Linked DNA regions of Homo sapiens: region 2 is linked to region 1. The links are contacts of gene promoters, found by promoter capture Hi-C in human tissues and cell types (Jung and others, 2019). All regions are on one chromosome and are shown on one strand. Each heading gives the region's core, a stretch centred on a gene start or on the middle of the fragment in contact. The rest is flanking DNA. Distances are from core to core; before and after follow the strand shown. Region 1 holds the start of CDC20 (cell division cycle 20). Region 2 overlaps RNF220 (ring finger protein 220).

Region 1 (5,290 bases), core at 999-3,498:
CGGCACTCAGACAGGCCCCAGAGCACACATTCCAGATGCGAATGTGTCGATCACTGGTGCCCCCTCCTGTTGCCAGGACATTGGACTGCCAGGGACACCATGCTACGGCCTAGATGGAATAAAGGTGGGGTCAGCAGGTACTAGAGCCAGACAAGGAGCTCTAGGGGTCACAGATTAACCCAGTCCAATCCTACCATCCCTTCTCCCCTTAACAGTCCCCAGATTATAGGTGAGGGTCTGCAGAGGCTTCAGCCCAACCCTACTCACCTTGACAGCCCCTTGATGCTGGGTGAATGTCTGCAGAGGAACCCAGCCACCCTCTCCAGGAGCACTAGGCCACACATTGACCAAGTTATCATTACCACCACTGGCCAAATGTCGTCCATCTGGGGCCCAGCGCAGCCCACACACTTCCTGGCTGTGGCCACTCAGTGTGGCCACATGGTGTTCTGCTACCCGAACATCATGGTGGTGGATGTGGCCAGAACGTGAACCACTGGAGGAGGAAAGAAGGGAATCAGGTTCTGTGGCAGCACCAAATGCAAGCAAGCCAGAGCTGGTTCAGTTCAGGGGTGTACAGTCAAGGGGAGGGTGGGCAAATATCAGACTACCATAGACCAACAAAAACCACTGACCTGGACAGGATATAGCTGTTCCAGCTTAGGGAGCCCACTCGGGCAGAGTGACTGGTCATATTTCGAAGCCGTTTCTGCTGCTGCACATCCCATAGCTAGAGAGAGAAGCCCACTAGGATCAGAGATTGGGACTTGGCATTAATATCCTCCAGCTGTGCAAGCCCATTGGGACTGGTGAGAATGACAGCACTGGACACGTCTCACCTGCACCTCAGCACTGCTGGTGCCCACAGCCAAGTAGTTGCCCTCTTTGATCCAGGCCACAGAGGATATATATTCCCCAGGCTGCTCCATTTGCAAAAGCTGCAGGATGTCACCAGAGCTTGCACTCCACAGGTACACACTGTTGTCCAGTGCCACGGCCAGTACATTCCCAGAACTCCAATCCACAAGGTTCAGGTCTGTCAGAGGTGGAGAGAAGAGCATGAGCTTCCTTGTTTGTGTGGTCCCAGGCCCTCTTTCTCCATGCATGAGGCGAGGATAAGGATGCACTTACAATAGTCATTTCGGATTTCAGGCGCATCCAGGATACGGTCTGGCAGGGAAGGAATGTAACGGCAGGTCTTCCGGCTGGAGCCAGGAGTGGCCTTTTGGCTGTAGAGTACTTTCAGTCTGTTCTGATAACCTGTGGCAACGGAGTGAGTCTAGACGCTGGGAAAATCAACACCTCCCTTGCCCTCAATCTTAGATAGGAAGAGGAGACAGATATCTGTGCTCAGCCCTGGAGATGAACTGACACCTCCCTCCAGGAACCAGGAACTTCGGGTCTTACCCTCTGGCGCATTTTGTGGTTTTCCACTGAGCCGAAGGATCTTGGCTTCCTCTACATCAAAACCGTTCAGGTTCAAAGCCCAGGCTTTCTGATGTTCCTGGCATAAAGGGTAGTGAAGGAGCAAGATGGTATTATCCAAAGAACAGTCAGGTCCCGTGCCTTAAGCCCCTCTGGGACACATACCTTCTTGGTGGGCGTCTGGCTGTTTTCAGGCTGGTTCTCCTTGCTCAGGAGGAAGCTGGCCACCTCCATCTGGGCAGCACTGCGATGGGGGATATAGCGGTCACCGCCAGGTTTGCTAGGAGTGGTCTGAACCTTGGAACTGGATTTGCCTGGGGCGGAGAAAGAGAAGACAGTCTGACCAGGCTCCCCAGGGAGAAAGTATGAAGGCTGCTCTCACTCAGTTCCTTTGGCACCTCACTGACCAGGAGTTCGGCCCGGAGTCCTGCCGGCGCTGTGGGATCGGTTGGCGGCCCGCATGGGTGAGGGGGCCGGGCCTGCGGCTTCCTTGGCTTTGCGCTGCCAGCGCGCAGGGGGTGCATTGGGGATGGGTGCATCCAGCTGAAGCAGCGAGTGCAGGTCACTCTCGAACGCGAACTGTGCCATGGGAGCGCCCGCAGGGGGAGGGGTCCTTGCAGTTGGTGCCTACGGAGCCCTGGAGGAAAGGAGGCGACGGTGCTCAGGGGACAGAAAGGGACCCCTTCGCTCCTGGCCGGCCACAAAATCAGGGCCACCCTCGGCTGCAGCCCCTTCCGGCCTAGCACCCCCTCCCCCTGGCCACGGCCCCACCTCGGCTCAGCCCCACCACCTCTCACCGTGCCCTCCGGAGCAGTTCCGACCGGCTTTAACACGCCTGGCTTACGCCTCTTAAACTCTCCGCTCCGAGCGCCTATTGGCTCCTTCAAAATCCAACCGTCGCAACCGTTGCCCTAGCCCATTGGCCTCTCCGGCGAAGGGGGCGGGCCTTCCGGGGAAAGTCTCAGCTATCACGAGAGTCTAGCGGCGGAGCGCGATTTGAAGGGTACGAGAGGGGCTGGGAGCCGGCGCCAGAGGACTAGTACTGGAAAGCCGGCCGGGACAGGGCGGGGCAGGGCGGGGCCGGGTGGGGCCTGCGCTGCCTCAGCGTCCTGGAGTCGTCTCGGTTCGCCCTTTTGCGTGCCTTCCACCGCCGCGAGCTCGGAATGTCTGGCCCCGGGTGCTTCAGGGTCCGAGAACCTGCAGAAGTTCACACTTAAATCCTACACGAGAGTCGTATTTATGATGCAGAACTCGGTGCAGAACCCGATGGAGTGCCCAAGGCGCTTGAGCCGTTCCTAGAAGGGGAAGGAGAGCCGCGGGCGGCAGCGGGGCAGGGGACGGAATTGGGAAGCTTGGGAGCAGGAAGAAGGCCAGAGCTACTTAGGGTACATTCCACTTTTGCTTGGCGCCGGGTAGGAACCCTGCTAGAAAGGAAGTAACGTGTGTTTGTCTCGTTTGCTGTTGTTTTACAAACAGGGAAAATGAGGTTGAAAAGGGTGAATGAATTCCTTAAGGTCAAGAAAAAGGATCGGTATTCAAACCTGCCTATCTGGAAGATAAGCTTAGACTGCCCTACAGGAGGCACTGTGGCTTATCCCCTTGGGGCTTTAAAGATGTGAGGACCTTAGAGATCCATTAGTCTAACCTGTGCGTGGTGCAGCCTCCCCACCCCGACAACAAATCCATATTTTACAGATGGAGAAACGGAGGCCCAGGGAAGGGATGTGCCCGAGGTCATACAAAGAAGTTTGTGGGAATCCAGGTCTGACTCGCACTCAATCTAGTGCTCTAATAATGACTTGAGTGAATTGTATGAATGTGCTCAGAGGTGGAGCAGCAATCATAAAAGTAATAATGGTACCATTTATGGACCATCTAACTACTGTGTTAAAACAATTTACAGGCCATGCGCGGTGGCTCACGCTTGTAATCCCAGCACTTTGGGAGGCCGAGGCGGGCAGATCACGAAGTCAGAAGATCGAGACCATCCTGGCTAACACGGTGAAACCCCGTCTTTACTAAAAATACAAAAAATTAGCCGGGCTTGGTGGCGGGCGCCTGTAGTTCCAGCTACTCGAGAGGCTGAGGCAGGAGAATGGCGTGAACCCGGGAGGCGGAGCTTGCAGTGAGCCGAGATCGAGCCACTGCACTCCAGCCTGGGCAACAGAGCGATACTCTGTCTGAAAAAAAAAAAAAAAGTTTACATACATTATCGAGTTCAATCCTTAATCCCATAAGGCAGATAGATACCCCATCTTCCCTTTACAGAAAAAAGAAACTGGGTCAGAAAGATTAGAAACTTGCCCAAAGGCATGCAGCCAATAATAAGTAGGGGAGCCCAGGATTCAAACTATCTGACTAATCCCTGCAATCTAAACAATACGCTATACTGTCCCAGAAAGAGGCTGGAAAAATCATTTTCAGTCATTAGCTTAAAGTCCACTCCGATGCTTACAGATAATGTTATTATCTTTGACTTGAAGCCTTTGCATTCTCTATTTCCAATTACCTTGGAAAATAAGGAATTGGATATGCTTAGGTTAGAGGTGGGGAATTCCCAGAAAACATAGAAAAGGTTGTCTCATGTCAAGTTGGTCAGGGTCTTAAATGTTAAGCTAAAGACTTTGGACTTCATCTGCTAGGCATTGTGGTACCTGTGGGGTTTCTGTGTAGGGAAGGACCAAATAAAACATCTGAGGGGGGGGATATGGCAATAATTTGCAACTTCTGGTGGTAGCTATAGAGAAGGATAAAGGGTATAGCCTCAGGGAATTTGTACATTTAAAAATAAAGGATTTGGGCAGGTTGTCATGGTTCACTCCTGTAATCCCAGCACTTTGGGAGGCCAAGGCGGGCAGATCACTTGAAGTCAGTAGTTCAAGACTAGTCGGGCCAATGTGGCGAAACCCTGTCTCTACTAGAAGTACAAAATTAGCCAGGTGTGGTGGTGCACACCTGTAATCCCAGCTACCTGGGAGGCTGAGGCAGGGGAATCGCTTGAACCTGGGAGGCGCAGGTTGTAGTGAGCGAGGTCGCGCCACTGCACTCTAGCCTGGGTGACAGAGGGAGACTTTGTCTCAAAATAATAATAATAATAAATGAATGAAGGAAGGCAATGGAAATTATCCAGACATGGATCTTGAAGTGGGAGATACCCTAATATATGTAGTCAAGTGGAATGATGACAGAAAGGGTCAGATTTGGCCATTGAAAATCAAATTACCGATGACTTTGGAGAGAGCAGGATCAGGAAAGTGGGTGCTTGAGATCCATTTTGGAGGAGTTGCGGAAAGAATGAAATAGGGAGAACGGGAAGCCGGCAAGTATAGGTGACTTGTGTAGCCCATCCCCTGATATCCTCTATATTCGTTTGCTAGAGTTACTGTAACAAAGTACCACAAACTGGCTTAAATGACAGAAATTGGTTGTCTCACAATTCTGGAGGTTAGAAGTTCCAGATCAAGGTGTCATGAGAGTTGTGTGAGAACCGTGAGGAAGAATCTGTTCCATGCCTCTCTCCTGGCTTCTGGTGGTGGTTTGCCGGCAATCTTTGTCATTCCTTGGCTTATAGAAGAATCGCCCTGTTCTCTGCCTTCATCTTCACTTGGCTTTCTTTCTGTGTGTATGTGTGTCCAATTTTCTCTTTTTATAAGAATACCAATCATATTGAACTAGGGCCCTGACCTCATCTTAACTAATTATATCTGCAATGACCCTATTTCCTAATAAGGTCGTATTTGAAGTACTGGGAGTTAAGACTTCAACATCTGGCTGGGTGTGGTGGCTTACACTTGTAATCCCAGCACTTTGGAAGGCCAAGGCCAGAGGATTGCTTGAGCTCATGAGTTTGGGACCAGTCTGGGCA
Region 2 (5,011 bases), core at 1,994-4,493, 1.1 Mb before region 1:
CTAATATATAGCAATAAATTATCCTTAAGTCTGCAGTTCATCTCTCTTTAAGACGGGATAAAATGGCACTGGGAAATGCTGTTAAACTCTTAGCAGCAAATATGCAAGTCCAAACAATATTGCTATTTTGGTGTTTAAAAATCCTGTGGATTTTACAATGCAATGTACCATCACTCCAAATCTCAAGTATTTATAAAGAGCACGTCCCAAGGTGTGCTTCGATATTTATTAACCACATGGATGTGGTTAATAAGAGTTAAAAATAAGAAAAACTATTATAAAAATATAACTCCATTAAATATGCTGTCACTCCAAATCTCAATTATTTACAAAGAATACATTTCAATGTGTGCCAATATTTATTAACCAGATGGATGTAGTTAATAAGGGTTAAAAATAAGAAAACCAATATAAAAATATAATTCTATTTTTCAGTTTCCTCTTCCCTGCCTAATGAGGAAAGGGGGTGGGGAGGGACAGCAACTTTTGTTATTTGGATACAATGTGTGTGTGTTTTTTTTTTTGTTTTCAAACAAAAAAGGGCCACCAAATAATCAACCTGGGGCCGCTGACCGGAAGGCAGCCCCGGAAAACTTCCCGTGGGAAGAGTTCCAGAAATTGCCCAGACTTTAACGAGCCCCGCTGTGCTGGCTGCGAGCCTCAGAGGCCACCGCGACTCGCCTTGCCCGAATGCCAGCAATCCCGCCGAAGGACGGAGCCCTGGACTTCGGAAACATTCCCCGGAACATTTTTACAGATTTGAAAAGCAGGAAGGGAAAAACATTTCAAGCCGAAAGGAGAAGCCTCAGAGTCCTGGGGGCACCAAGGGGCCAGCGAGGTCCCCAGGCGCTGTACACACGTCCAACCTCCCTCCTCCACGCGCCCTGCTCCCCCAACCTCCTCCCATCCCTCCTTCTCCAGGCAGAACCCTCCCCGCGCAGTGGCCATCCCCACGCCCGCGCTGTGTCCCCCTCACGCCCCGTGCACCCACTAGCGCCTCCCGCGCGCTCCCATGCACCCCGACGTCGCGTGGGCGCCCCCCCCTTATCCGTCACCCCGGTTCCCACTCTCTTCTGCTCAGACGGCGTAGAGGAAACCGATCGGGGACTGGGTTCTTAGTGCGACTTGGGGGTGCAGGGACGTGGAGGGCGAGGCGGGGCAGGGCGGGGGGCGCGACGGGCCCTCGTGTGTGCGGCCGCGGGCTGGGCGCTCCCGGCCCTCGAGGCGGCGCGCGGAGTCCTCCTGCGGCCTCCAAGTGCTGCAGAGCGACGGCGAGATCACCAACATTTCTGAAACCACTTGCAAGCCGCCTCGGTGGCGGAGGCTGGGGGTCCCTTGCAAGTAAGCGAACGGGGCCCACCCCGTGGCCTGGCCTCCCCGGGGCCAGTTCTCGCGCCTCTCCGCGCCCCCTCCCCCAGAAGATCAATTACCAGCCACCCTTCTGCCGGCAGCGGCGAGGGGCTGGCGGGCGGCCGCGAGAAAACGGCAGCCCGGATCACTTCTGCATGACAATTGATGGGAGGGAGGGCGCGGGGCGAGGAGGGAGGACGGCTGCGGTGTCCGTTTTCTCACCATGGTGATTAGGCATTCCGGCCGTAAGAGGAGGCAGCCGCCGCACAGAGCGGCGCGGCGTGGAGCGAGGGCAGGGGAAGAGCGGGAGCACAACTACAGCGAGCCCAGCCGCCAGGCGAGCGGCGCGCCGAGCCAAGCCAAGCCAGGCCAGATGGCTCTGCAGCCATCAGGGACTGCTCCCGTCCAGCCTGGCCCCACTTTAGCTGTGCAAACATTTCTTTATCCCAACAAGACAATTAAACCCAGCAGCATGAAAAAGAGTCTCCATGACTGTGTTGGGAGTGAACAACCAGAAACAACCACACACATCACAGGAGTTCTTGCCCCCGGGGAGTAGGGGAGAACCCGGGAGCAGCTGAGGGAGAGTCAGGCTAGGTCTGGGCAGTCAGGACAGAGGGAAGCATCTGACCCAGGTCTTCTGGCGATTTGCTGACCCTTTCCCAGTGGTCATCTGTCCCAGCTGCAACCCAGAGGTGCAGCCTGGCCACCTGGCATGCCCCAAACATTCTCCCTAGCAAGAACAACTCTCCTAAAAGCCCAGTGTAGAGTCCCTGCCCACCCCAGTCCCAGAGCCCTTGGAAAGTATCCCCCCTCACCCCAGCCCTCCCCATTCCAGGCTGCCTTTGGCCTAGGTGGGCTCAGCTGATTTGATTGTTAGAACACAGGGTCTTCAATGATACATGCCTTTATATAAAGACACAGAGTACAAAATACCATCTCCTACTCAGGGCTTTTGGGACCCAAGAATGGCTGTTCAAGTACATCAAAGATGAGAGCAAAGCAGAACATCCAGGAGCTGCTGTGAGCCATCAGGTTTCCTGCCTACCTGTGACTCTGCCCGACCACAGTGAAGGTCAAGGAAAGAGGGCAAAGCCAAGCCACGTGTGGTCAGTGCCCAGGGTCCATCCCTGGGGTAAGCCAGAAGACAGGGCCAGTCGCCGCTCCACGCGGGCAGTTCTGGGCCCTCTCAGCCCTGTGGTGAGCATGTATACTTCGCCAACTCCAATCTGGGCTGAGTGGATAGGCTGGCAGGCTGGCCAAAGACTGTGTCACACAGGCAGGAATCTGGGCACAGGGGCAGCCTGAAGAGGACCATCAGGATATGCACATGACAGGAGCCAGAGTGCTAAGGGGGTAATAAATGTACAGATTCTAACACAAGACAGCAGACAATACTTATCTTCCCTTTTGTTGTGAAGTTTCCTTAATGAGGAAATGTTTATTTTAAAGGCCCTGGGAAACATGGCTGTAGACATTTCATATGTAAAGCACACGTGAACTACTTGTAATTGGTCCGTAAATTTTAGCATTATTTCCCTGGACAATGAGTCTTGGGGACTGATTCAAGGAGTGACAATAAGCAGGAGTTACCTCAGTCTCCTTCCTGGGGAATTATGCATCCTCCATGAATGGCTTCTCACAAAACACTTCTCCCATTTTCCAGGGCAAGTAAGTCAGTCCTGCAGAGTAAAGGCTGCTTGTTTTTCCATAGAGCACAACACCTCCCTCAGGAATCACCTGTGAAGCCAGGTGGATGGACAGGCAAGCAAACCAGAATCATCTATCAGGAAAGATGATGCTTGACCCAAATCGCTATATTTCTGTCTATAAAAATGCATGTTTAACCACAAAAGAAATCCTGCCTACCAGTACCCAGATTTAAGGAAAGAACATGTGTGCATTACACCATGTCTGCAGGCCTCTCTTTCCAGTGGGCTCACAAGTGGACATATCTGCAGATTGATGTAGTGTGTGAGCAGGGGGTGGCTGCAGCAGTAAAAACTGTCAGTGTTTCCATTATACAACTGATTTCTTAATGACCTAAAACTCAGTCATAAAAACTTCTGCTCTAAGTAAAGGACACACACCACCATTCTCATCTCCCACCCCCACCCACCAACAAAACTCTAAAGCTAAATGCTTACTTCGGAGTTTGACTGCTGCACTTAATTAAAACATTTAAAAAATATTTTATGAAAAGATATTTATATGAAGAGAACTGAAAAATGAGTCAACCATATCAGCAATTAACTCTAAATTTTAAGAATAAATATATATACATATATACACGTGTGTGTGTGTGTGTGTGTATATCAACCATATATGGTTAATTTGGGCAATCTGGCGAAAGCACTGTATCCTATCACTCTGCTCGTCTGAACACTTTCTATCCTCTGTCTTTTCATATCCCCATACCCCGTCACTGCCCCCATCTGCCCCTGAAGCTTTCTCTCCCTTTGGAAGCAGTCTTGTATACTGTCACTCGATTATCTGAGAAATATTACTTATTTCAAAACGGTTCTGTAGGGAGGACCTGAAAGGCATCTAGTGGGAATAATCAGGCCTTCTAACGACCCTTAAATATGTATTTACATAAAACAGACCATAAATATTCCGACACACGTCGGCATATGACAGGAGCCAAGAAAGCTGCTGCAGACTTTGTCTTAGTGCCTCTTCAACCCTTCCTTACAGAAAAATACTTCTCCTGCCTTCCAAAAATTCGCAATCAAAAGCACAAACGCTATCTAGTATGACCCAGTGAGGGATGTGCTAACCACCTAAGGTAAGGAAGGGAGTAAAAAGCACAACTCCAGGGTGACCACAGGGTAGCACAGCCTCCTTTTCACTTTGCACCTTTGTTTTTTATTAAAGATTAGTCACAAATGCAACTCTGGATAATAACGAGGGTGTACGAACACCCTCCCCTCACAGACACTCCTATAGGTTTTATGCTTGTGTACAAGAAAAAAAAAGGAGAACACAGGGTACTCTATAAGGGAAGACTATTTTAAATGAATAAAAGAGGAAAGGGACTCCAATTTGTATAACACCGCATTGGAAATAAAGAAGTTTCCCCACCCTTCTGATCAGAATCTCATTAATTTCAAGGTCAGAATTCCATTTCACTTTGGGAGACAGACTCATTTAATTTTTCTCCACCCAGGCGTACTCCTGTGTGAGGGATCCATCTCCATGGGGGATGCCACCACCACACAATGCAAACCAGGCAAACAGAAGAGTTATGGCTTTGACACTCAGAGGGGAATGGATATCCACGTCTATGAGTTCTGACTTGACTAACAAGCTTCCTCCTGCTCTGGAGTCGGATACAGGTTTGGGCTAAAAAGATAGAAAAATGGAGACAAGCTGGATCTGTTAGGTAAGAAGAAAGAGATCTCAATCTCCAGATGTTACTTTGTGGCATATTAGCTAAGAGAAGATTTCATTTTCAACTTGTATTTGGAGAAAAAAAGGGGCGGAATCTGTCACACCCTAACACAAGGCAGTTTTGGCTGGAGGTCACATTATAACTAGCCTTGATCACTTGCACATCACTGGACAAATGAAAACTAAAATAAAATCAAATGAACCAACACAATGCCGATACCTGTTCAGCAGGTATATCCAAGAAGCAGGATCACAAGACACACAAGTC

The links. Contacts are between HindIII fragments. The study calls those that stand out against the background at their distance.
Region 2: a fragment that was not itself captured here is called in contact with the fragment with the promoter of CDC20 in region 1 in 1 of the 25 tissues and cell types used here (hippocampus).

What each region holds. Positions count from the first base shown.
Region 1 is chr1:43,355,939-43,361,228 of GRCh38, reverse strand. CDC20 (cell division cycle 20) reads right to left here and starts at 2,248. Exons shown (of 11, transcript NM_001255.3): 1 at 2,223-2,248; 2 at 1,833-2,062; 3 at 1,591-1,739; 4 at 1,408-1,504; 5 at 1,132-1,260; 6 at 840-1,036; 7 at 636-730; 8 at 268-496; 9 at 1-109. The coding sequence starts at 2,013. It overlaps CDC20-DT (CDC20 divergent transcript), which reads left to right and starts at 2,556. Exons shown (of 4, transcript NR_183650.1): 1 at 2,556-2,679; 2 at 3,121-3,187; 3 at 3,329-3,426. RefSeq lists silencers at 2,060-2,209, 2,400-2,509 and enhancers at 1,952-2,460, 2,800-2,859, 2,971-3,479. The HindIII fragment of the contact is 17,818 bases long and covers 1-5,290 here.
Region 2 is chr1:44,414,156-44,419,166 of GRCh38, reverse strand. The region is part of intron 2 of RNF220 (ring finger protein 220); the gene reads right to left. Among named protein-coding and RNA genes, the nearest start is that of RNF220, 11 kb to the right of the region's middle. The HindIII fragment of the contact is 3,748 bases long and covers 1,370-5,011 here.